Regions from separate parts of the Homo sapiens genome. Here all the other regions are linked to region 2. Evidence: promoter capture Hi-C in 16 types of primary human blood cells and fetal thymus (Javierre and others, 2016). All regions are on one chromosome and are shown on one strand. Each heading gives the region's core, a stretch centred on a gene start or on the middle of the fragment in contact. The rest is flanking DNA. Distances are from core to core; before and after follow the strand shown. Region 1 has its middle 86 kb from the start of LINC03083. Region 2 holds the start of NKX2-2 (NK2 homeobox 2). Region 3 has its middle 65 kb from the start of LINC03083.

Evidence for each region. The method cuts DNA at HindIII sites, captures the fragments that hold promoters and counts their contacts. A CHiCAGO score of 5 or more calls a contact.
Region 1: a fragment that was not itself captured here is called in contact with the fragment with the promoter of NKX2-2 in region 2 in 6 of 17 cell types (M1 macrophages, total CD8 T cells, naive CD4 T cells and 3 more); the score reaches 8.4 in M1 macrophages.
Region 3: a contact is called between a fragment that was not itself captured here and the fragment with the promoter of NKX2-2 in region 2, in 1 of 17 cell types (M1 macrophages). The highest score is 5.5, in M1 macrophages.

The regions. Positions count from the first base shown.
Region 1 is chr20:20,882,465-20,885,847 of GRCh38, reverse strand. No RefSeq gene overlaps it. Among named protein-coding and RNA genes, the nearest start is that of LINC03083, 86 kb to the left of the region's middle. The HindIII fragment of the contact is 1,552 bases long and covers 1,211-2,762 here.
Region 2 is chr20:21,512,509-21,515,971 of GRCh38, reverse strand. NKX2-2 (NK2 homeobox 2) reads left to right here and starts at 1,908. Exons shown (of 2, transcript NM_002509.4): 1 at 1,908-2,561. The coding sequence starts at 2,303. RefSeq lists an enhancer at 1-211. The HindIII fragment of the contact is 7,883 bases long and covers 1-3,463 here.
Region 3 is chr20:20,904,189-20,907,542 of GRCh38, reverse strand. No RefSeq gene overlaps it. Among named protein-coding and RNA genes, the nearest start is that of LINC03083, 65 kb to the left of the region's middle. The HindIII fragment of the contact is 1,829 bases long and covers 1,155-2,983 here.

The DNA of each region.
Region 1 (3,383 bases), core at 737-3,236, 630 kb after region 2:
GGACTACATGTGCATGCCACCATGCCTGGCTAATTTTTATATTTTTTAGTAGAGATGGGGTTTGGCCATGTTGGCCAGGCTGGTCTCAAACTCCTGACCTCAAGCGATCCCCTGTCTTGGCCTCCCAAAGTGCTGGGATTACAAGTATGAGTCACTATGCCCGGCCACTCCTTTCCTTGGCTAAACAAAACAGTGTTCCGGGTCCTGATTGTTCATCTCTCTGGGTGAAATGATCCCTAATGGTTAACTTCACCTGAAGTAGAGCTGGAAACTAATTTACAAGGATCAAAACTCTGAACCTCTTCCAGAAAACAGCAGGGCCCTCATGGAAATAGGCGGCAAATCATTTCAGTTTTTTCCATTTTCTCCTCATGCTGGGTATGTTGAGGCGCACTGCTAATGAAAAAGTCTCCAAAACCCACCTAAAATTAACAACTTTCCTGAGGCCAGATGCATTTGGGATTTACAAACACTGGCAGTGTCAACAAGGCTCTGTCTCCTGGATACCATGGATAGCCCAGCGCTGGCATGGCTGGCATCCCTGGCTCCAGAAGGAGGTGTCTGGAGTGCTCCTCCCAGGGCTCCTGCTCTCCAGGCGCAGGACTCAGCATGACTTAGGGCACCCCAGGGGCTGGGGGCCAGGACTAGCTAAAGTCGTACCTGCTGGAGCAATGTCTTCTGCTCTGCGAAGGAGAGATGGCTCCGTGCTCAGTGAAGCAGAAATGGTGGAGTGCTTGGTCTCCTGTGCGCTCCTCAGCTCTCCTGTAAGTATACAGCCATGCACAGGAAGCATTCATTTAATGGTCCCTTTGAGCATCTCATTATCAACACAGCTCCAACCATAAGAAGAAGGTGAGCTCATGCAGCAAATGACCTTGGGTTCTGATTGTTCTGGACCAGACTTTGTGAGAGCGGTAAAGAGTTGGGTCCTTCCCTCTTAAGCATTGGATGGTGGTTAATGGAGCTGTCTCCCTGGTCACCAAGGAAGAGTCCCCCAGTTCTGTTCTCTTATCTTCCCAGAAAGCCCCCCGGTTTCCACTTGGATGGCCAAATTTGACAGTACCTAAAACTTAAACACTTCCTTCCCCAAACTTGAACAAAAGAGTCTTGCTCTCAAAGGACATGACGAAGCATCAATAGCAGCATGAACCATGAAATTGCTCTCTTCACCTGTGCCTCTCCACTTTGCTAGGTGGGGTTATAGGAAGCTTCTTCCAGCAGAAATCCCCATTTGCCTTAAACAATTATTTAATAAATAAATATCGAGAGTTTCATCAACCAAGAGTAGCCTTTCCCCTCATGACTTAGCAAAAGCAGCATCACTCTTCATAGAGTAATGGCATTTTTGAAACATTAAGCTAGCTTCCTCTCCTTGCCTGACAACCTCTGAGGAAATAGCTAAACCAGAACAGATAAGGGAAAGAGTAAAGGTTTTTCATTAAATCCTTTTCAAGTTTTATCTCTGGCATAGGAATTTTCATGAAGTAGAAACACAATTTTCAGGTTCAGGGAACCAGAATATAATTTGGGTCAGTCTTTTAAGAATATAGCGTTATCTGGGTGGGTTTATTATTTTATAATGTGATCCTGCTTAATCTCATGCCAGGCTCCTGTTTGTTCTGCTGTAGCCATGCTGGCTTTCTTTCTGTTTCTTAAACACGCTGGTTCTACCCCACGGCCTTTGCATCTGCTGTGCCCTCTGCCTGGTCCACTCATCCCTGGATCTCTGCACACTGCCTTTTCTCCCACTCAGATCTCAGCTCAAATGTCTCTTCATTGATGAGGACTTTTTTTTTTACTATCTCAGCACAAGTGGCCCCCACCTCCACTCTGTTGTCTTTAAGTCATTGCTCACTCCTCAAATTTGTCTTCTTTGATAATTGTCTTCTTTTTCCTTGTCTGTCTCCATGAGGGTCTTGTCCCTTATTGTCCTGGGACAAAAGTGCCTGGCATATAGTAAGCACTCAATAAATCTGTGTGGGTAGAACTCCACTTGGAAGATGAGGAAAAGCCATTTAAAATTCTTATTTGGGGCCTGTTTGGATATTTCTTGCTTCTGTTTCAAGATTATACTTTTTGGTGGCATCAAGCAATTAGCATGCTGGACTCACCCTCATGGACTCTTCACATTAAAAATATGTAGATTGCATACCTGTGTGTCTACATAATCTCAGTATCACCTGCCTTTAGCAACAAAATGTCTGATGTGACCTTTACCCTCATGTTTATTATCCATAAAACTAAATCCACTTCAAACTGCTCCTACACTAAGAACCCATGAAAACATGTGCTATAAGAGCTTTGATGGATCGTTTCAAAAATGCATTCTACTAAGTTTTCTCTCCTCTCCTTCAGGGCTCTTTCTGTACAAAAGTACCATCTCCCATGCTAAAGTAGGCTTGTAGGGAAATAAAGCACTCCAGGCCATAATAGGTTTGGACCAACCATTCCCTCCCATTCATGATGGTTATTTCTTTAAAAGACAATTAAGTTTATTTGTTTCTGTTTACATTTTATTTTAATATTTTTTCTACATTGTTCATTTAATTTTTTTCTGAGTTTGTAAAAATTAACATGGTTCTTTAAGTCTACTCCATTCCTGCCCCACTGTCTCTTCCTCTCCAGCCTAATCCTTTCCATCCCATTCAAACCCCACTATCTCTTCCATCCTGTTCCAACCCATTCCCTAGAGGTAGCTAATCATGTTAGTTTCTGGTTTATCCTCCCTGTATTTCTTTATGCAAAACATTAGCAAATAAGCTTATAATTTTTTAATCTTTCTTACACAAAAGGAAGCATCCTTTAGATACTCTTTTGCACTTTGCTTTCTTCACTGAACATTGGAAATCACTTCATAGCAGTTTACAGTAATCTTTCTCAATATTTCTCACAGCTGCCCAATATTCCGTTGTGTAGATATACCACAGTTTATTCAAATACTCTCCGTGATTGGGTCTCTAGGTAGTTATCAATATTTTGCAATTATAAACCAGGTTGCAATGAATTGCCTTGTGTTTATATATTTTTGTATCATTAAAGGTGTGTCTTTAGAGTAAATTCCTAGAGTCGGTATATCTGGGTCAAAGGCAAGTGCATATGTAGTTTTGTTAGCTGTTTCCAAGTGCTCCCGCTCAAGAGTTGTAGCAGTGAGAGTGCCTATTTCCCGAACAGCCTTATCAATAGAGTGTGTTGTGGAGCTTTTCAATATTTTCCAATCAGATAGATGAGAAATAGTGTCTCAGCCTAATTTTAATTTGCCATTCTCTTAATATGAACAAATTTCAACATCTTTTCATGTGTTTAAAGGCCATTTTTATAGCCTTTTGTTGCAAATTGTCTGTTTGTGTTTTTGTGTGTTTTTCTATTTGATGTTTGCTCTTTTT
Region 2 (3,463 bases), core at 659-3,158:
CACCCAGGACGCGCCGACGAGGGGCTTGCTCTAACCTGGGCCATTGTCACCCACGTCACATACTGGGGGCGAGGCAGCTAGGGCTGCAGAAAGCCGCCGAGCGGCTCGGGGAGAGGTGCCCTCACCCAGCGCTGGCAACCCGGGGGCAGCTGGGGCGCGGCGGCGTCCGCTGCAGCTGCGCGCGAGGAGGACCCGGTGCCCGCGCGCTCAGCTTGGCCCGCGCGGAGGAGCCCAGGTTGTGGGAAGACTAGACCTGGACCCCGCAGGGGTGGCCTTCTGTGCCCCTCCCCGCCCCCAGACAAAGCTCCTTCCTGACACTCCTCTGGGGCGAACGAGCATCAGGTAGCCAATCTACACCCCTGCACCCCCCCCCCAAAAAAGTTTTAACTAGAAGAAGGGGTGGCAAATGCGGCGTGGTCTTTTCCAACCCCAGCGCCGAGGAGGAAGTGCAAGTCCCGGGAAAGTTCAGTTCCCAGAGCCGAGAGTGGCTGGAAACTTCACACTAACCTGACTTAACCTGGAAACGTGGAGCGCGTACTCCGAACGCACCCAAGGCGTCCAAAAAGAGACCACACTAAAGAACTCGCGTGGGAGAAGAAAACTGGGGAGAAAACGAGGCATCGTCGGGCCACCCAGCGACCCCCCTCCCCCGCAGCTTTCTGGGTCTTCACCCAGGCTGGAGACACAACCCCCACCCCCACCCCCGCAATCCCGCCCCGCCGCCTTCCCGCTGCTCCACCTCTAGCCAGAGGCTGGAGAGGGAGGGGGCCGGAGAGGGAGGGATAATAGAGGGCAGGAAAGAGCAGGGCCGTCTGCCCTTTCCTCCACCCGGGGAAAGAGGCCCGCAGAGCCCAGAGGCAGCAGGGCCAGGGTCCGACCCCAGACGAAGTTGGAGCTCCTCACTCTTACCCCGCCCTCCCCGGGACCGCCCGCAAAGCAGAAAGTGAACTGCGCGTCCTCCTTGGCCGCAGAGAGGTGGAGGCGGGGGGTTGGGGGTGGGAGGTGGGGGGAGGCGGAGTGAAGGAAATAAATGAGTCTTTAGCAAATAAAGGGCGGCTGGAAGGGGGCGGGTCGCTTGGTGGTGGCTCTGGCCGGCCCGGAGCGGAGCTCTCTCCTGGGTTTTGGGCTCTCTCGCGGTTAACTGGAATCAATTACTTGCCTTGTCATTTCTAGCACTCATCCTTAAGCCTCAACCAAAATATTGACCTAGGAGGCTTACAGAAGTTGGGCTCTTGCCATTTGAACCGGATCTTGTTTAGGCAACCACCAACGATGGAAAGGAGAGATTTCCGCAGCTCGGCCTTCGCCCCCTCCCCCTTTTCCAAAGGCGCCACAAATCGCCAATTTTCCGGCTTGCCGGGGGTGGGCGCGCGGGGGCGGGGAGGTAGGAACCGGTGAATGTTAAAGAGGATTTTTTCCCTCCTCCTGGTTTCTGTTTTGTTTTCTCCCCTCCTCCTCCCCACCCCCACCTTTTTTAAGATGCAATTTGTTAAAACGGCCCTTTCAAGTGTGTGGACTCGCGAGCGACGCGGTGGCCCTTTGTATGTAAATACTGGGTTTAAAAAAAAAAAGGCTCGCCCCGTCTTTGCAATTAATTGACACGTTACACCTCTCATCTTGCTCTAGAGGGCCGTTGGCTGGGAGCGCGGAGCTCCCCAAAACCCACAATTTCACATCTGCAAATACTGTCTTCATCCACTTGACTCCCAAGACCCGCCCACACGTGGCCAACCTTTGCGTTTTTAATGTCTCTTCCCCCTTTTTTCCACCCTTCTCCCGCTCCCTCTCTCGCTCCCCCTCCCTCCCTCTTTCTTTCCCTCCCTCCCTCTCTTTCTCCCCCTCTCCCCGCCTCCCCAGGTTCGTGAGTGGAGCCCAGCCTTATATGGACTGATCGCTCGGGCAATGGCCCATTTTTTCCTCGCCACCAGCCGCCACCGCGCGCCGAGCGGCCGCCGGAGCCCGAGCTGACGCCGCCTTGGCACCCCTCCTGGAGTTAGAAACTAAGGCCGGGGCCCGCGGCGCTCGGCGCGCAGGCCGCCCGGCTTCCTGCGTCCATTTCCGCGTGCTTTCAAAGAAGACAGAGAGAGGCACTGGGTTGGGCTTCATTTTTTTCCTCCCCATCCCCAGTTTCTTTCTCTTTTTAAAAATAATAATTATCCCAATAATTAAAGCCAATTCCCCCCTCCCCTCCCCCAGTCCCTCCCCCCAACTCCCCCCTCCCCCGCCCGCCGGGGCAGGGGAGCGCCACGAATTGACCAAGTGAAGCTACAACTTTGCGACATAAATTTTGGGGTCTCGAACCATGTCGCTGACCAACACAAAGACGGGGTTTTCGGTCAAGGACATCTTAGACCTGCCGGACACCAACGATGAGGAGGGCTCTGTGGCCGAAGGTCCGGAGGAAGAGAACGAGGGGCCCGAGCCAGCCAAGAGGGCCGGGCCGCTGGGGCAGGGCGCCCTGGACGCGGTGCAGAGCCTGCCCCTGAAGAACCCCTTCTACGACAGCAGCGACAACCCGTACACGCGCTGGCTGGCCAGCACCGAGGGCCTTCAGTACTCCCGTAAGTAGCAAAACTTGGCTGCCGAGGCCGTGGTCCCCTCCATTCCTGCAGCCGCAGCCCGGGTTGGACGCTGGGAGTGAAAGGGGAAGGGGCCATGTAAGCCCGGACCCCCTCACTCGGATCCGTAGAAAGATTTTTAACACCTGTATAGGATGTCCTCTGCCCTCCTCTTCAAGCCTCCTTAGTTCCGGGAAAGAACTTGGTCTCCAAAATTTTTTTCAATGCGAGAAGTTAAGGAGAAAGAGGGAGAAGGGCTATACCTCCCAGGGGCTGGTATATGATGTCAACCCGGACCGATGGCTCCAGCCGCAGCCCCCGGACTCCGGCCGCTGGGAGGGACTGGCCTGGCGCCCTGGAGGTAGCCAGCGAGCCTCGTCCGGGTACGGGTGGAGGGTGGGGAGGCTTCGGGTGGCCCGGGTATAAATAGCTCACCCTGCCCCCTGCGCGATCATAGAGGACGCTTTGTGCAGTGCAGGGGGTGTCTAGAAGGCCCGAAAGCAGAAACGAAAGCCCCCAAAAACCTGCCTTAAATGGCCGAGCCGATCAATGCTGGGATTGTGGGGTATTTCTTTTAAAAATCTGCCCACGTCTCGCCGGAGAGGAAACCGCTTAAGGGCGCCGGAGCCCTTAACCCGCGATGATCTTCAGTGCCACTTCCCCCCCCAAATTCTCACCCACACTATGTGAGCCCCTTGAAAGGCGAGCCCCTAGCCCCCACTCCTACGGATTTCCCTCTTTACCCTGGGAGGTCCCGACGTCTTCGTCAGGCGTAGAGGAAGGCAGGGGTCATGGCAAAGGCAGCGGGGCTGGGCTGCCAGGCGCGGAGGTCCAGGGTCGCACGGAGGATCCAGGGTGCTCCGAGTCTGGTGCAGGCTGCGCGCGGCCTCCAGACGCCTGACGCG
Region 3 (3,354 bases), core at 820-3,319, 610 kb after region 2:
TACGGATTAAATTATTTCAAAGGTTCTTTAAAGACTTTGAACTCCATGTCCTTTAAACATGATTACATGTTATATTTCTTTTAGAGAAAGGATTCTGAACCTAGGATTCATGGATGGCTTTCAAATGGTGAGTGAAGCCTCAGAAATTGTATGCAAATTTGTGGGTGTATTTTTTTTTCTGGGAAGAGGGTTCATAGCTTTCATTAGATTTCCAAGGAGTCCATAAGCTTCCACCAAAGTTAGTAACCACTCTTTACAGTTTGTTGTTTATAGATTTCCCAAGGGCTGTGGAAAGAGTATCATCATATACTCTAAAACATTAATCTTTTGAGATTCATAATGATTTGGTTAAAACCACTTAATATCTATTAAAAATGATAGAAGGAAGAATGTGCTAATGGTAGTTTTACAGCAGAGGTAAGCAGTCCTCCTTGCCCAGTCTTTGACAGCCTTTTCTCTTGTAAACATGGTCTTTTATACGTTCATGCTTTTTTGACCCTGCATTTGGGTTTAATATAAACTGCGACCTTTTTTTAGACAAATGTTAGATAAACTAGCCTGGCTTTGCTAAAGAAGAAAATATGTTTTGTCTGTGATTAATAAAGCACATGAAATCCACTTACTTGAGTTTCCCTTCACGTTCCTCTCTGCCCCTCTCTTTTCATACACAAAGAGACAGACGGGCAGACAGACAGATAGATACACAACCACACACAATTGTATCAGAAAGACACCCCAAATGCTTTTCTGAATGCAGGATTTCAAAATCTGGTTTTGACAAAAATAGCCCCAGCTGGTTATATTTAAGTCCCACTTGTTATGCACACAGTAGGTCAGTAATTTATGAGCCAAACAGCTGCTCCAATTTTCAGAACCATTAGGTCTCCCGGGTAAGCCACATGGCAGGGGGGTGGCGGGATGCACAGAAGGCTCTTCTTGAGAAATGAAACATTTCCTCGTGTGCATCTGGGTCAGCCATGTATAGTTCCTCTCATAAAAGATATTTTATGAACCTGAATAATAAGAATTTATATAAAGATGCATACACAAACTCACACAATGCATATGGAGGGAATAAAGAACAAGAAAGTAATGGTGAATTAAGTGCATTGAAGGGTTCAGCCAGCCTTTTAATAAACCACAAGATGGAAGCTTGAGTATTTGTGATGTCACCTTGACATTGGAGGGTATTTATATCTTTAAACAAGGCTCCTGTGGGTTGGACATAAGGGACAAAGGCTCTGAGGGGATTGAACCCCAAACTCTGAGGTAGGCCAACTGCACACAGCATTCATTATTTCATTCGCCTGCTCTTTAGTTTGTTCATTCATTTGTTTAGCCTGTGTTAATTGAATGCCAGGCCCTCCACTTGGTGCCAGGCTCAAATGCTGATGGTCCCTATTATGGAGATTACAATTTGGAAGGGAAGACAGCAATAAACTAGTAAACAAACACGTAAATATCTAACTACTTATGTAAATGTGAAAAGTACAAAGAAGAAAAAGCATTGCATTCTCTCTGTGATGTACAGAAAAATGGGATAGGAAGGTGGTCAGAGAAGACATCTGTGATGGTTAATGTGTCTACCTGACTGGCCTAAGGGATGCCCAGGTAGCTGGTAAAGCACTATTTCCAGCTGTGCCTGGGAGGGAGTTTCTGGAAGAGATCGGAGTCTGAATCGGTGAACTGAGTAAAGAACACGGCCCTCCCCGGTGTGGGTGGGCACCATACAATCCTTGGGGACCTAAATAGAACAAAATGCTGGAGGAAAGGAAAATGCACTCTCTCTTTTTGAGCTGTCCCATCCATTTTCTCCTGCCTTTAGACATCAGAGCTCAGCCTTTTTTTTCAGGCTTTTGGATTCAGATTGGGATGTACACCATTAGCACCCCTACCCCTGATTCTCAGGCCTTCTAACTTGAACTGAATTATACCACTGGCTTTCTAGTTCTTCCCCTTGCAGACAGAAGATTGTAGGACTTCTTGGTCTCCATAACCATAACAATGTAAGCCAATTTCTATGAAAACCTCCTCTTGCATATCTATCTATCTATTATCTACCTATTTGTTATCTATTATCTATCTATCATTATCTATTATCTATCATCTATCTATCATCTATCTATCATCTATCTATCTATCTATCTATCATCTATCTATCATCTATCTATCTATGTATCTATCATCTATCTATCATCTCCTGCTGATTCTATTTCTCTGGAGAACCCTGACTAATACCACATCTTTCAATAGGACATACTAATACTAAAATAATTATTTCTTGTTTATCTAAAATTCAAAATGAACTTGACATATCACATTTTATCTGATAATCTTACACCAGTTTGGGTTGGCCATGCAACTTGTTTTGGTCAGTGGGACAGTAGCAAATGTGGAGTACAGCAGAGGCTCAAAAGAACTTGCACATGGAGGCTTACGTTTGTGTTGTTCTTGGAACCTGGTGACTATTAACAGGTGAAGAAGCTGAGACCAGCCTGGTCCAGTCACACTCATTATCCCAACAGTCAGCTTGTCCACACTAGACATGTGAGTAAAGCCGTGCTAGATCATGTAGATACCAGCGGACTTGATGGCTGACTGCAGATGCCAAACCTTTGACCCACAGAATTGTGAGTAGAATAGAGGGTTATTTTCAGAAGAAGAAGGGGTAGAAATTTTTTTTTTTAATTTAAAAAAGAATAGATACTATCATCCACCACTAAGTTTTGACGTGGTTTGTTATGCAGAAGAAACTAACTGATAAACCTCAGACCCTACTATTTCAGTGTGCTCTGGCCAACTTCTAACTACAAATACATGGACAGAAGTACTAGGAATAAACACTCCCTCACAAGAAACAGCTTTCAGCCAATGACTCTTATTTATTTGGTGTATCAATACCCCAGCTCTCTCCCTAATAGAGCTGGGTAATTCTGAGACATGTGTTTTGCACTGTTTCCCAATTTTCCCATGAGATTAAGCTTGAGTTGTCCAAAGTGACAGCTGGCTTAATAATGCACCATGTATTGACTGTCGTTACTTCCAGGTTTCAGTTCCCCACTTCTCTCCAGTGTTCCCTGCACTTCTCTTGCACCCATATCCTTGTCTTGAGGTCTGTGAATTCACACTAAGATGGAGCTTCTGATAATTGCAGAGCAATGCAGGTTGCTGGTGGCCCTGGAGGCACCTCCAGCTCCAGCATGGGCCCATTATTCCCTCTGGACAAACTCCCTGAGGAAGGCCTGACCTGAAACGATTTAACTTCTATGTGCACACTCTGAATTAGTTTCTGGAACACCTGAAAATGCTCCAAAGGTCCCTCTGGAGACCTCCATGAAATGTTGGTTAGTTAAT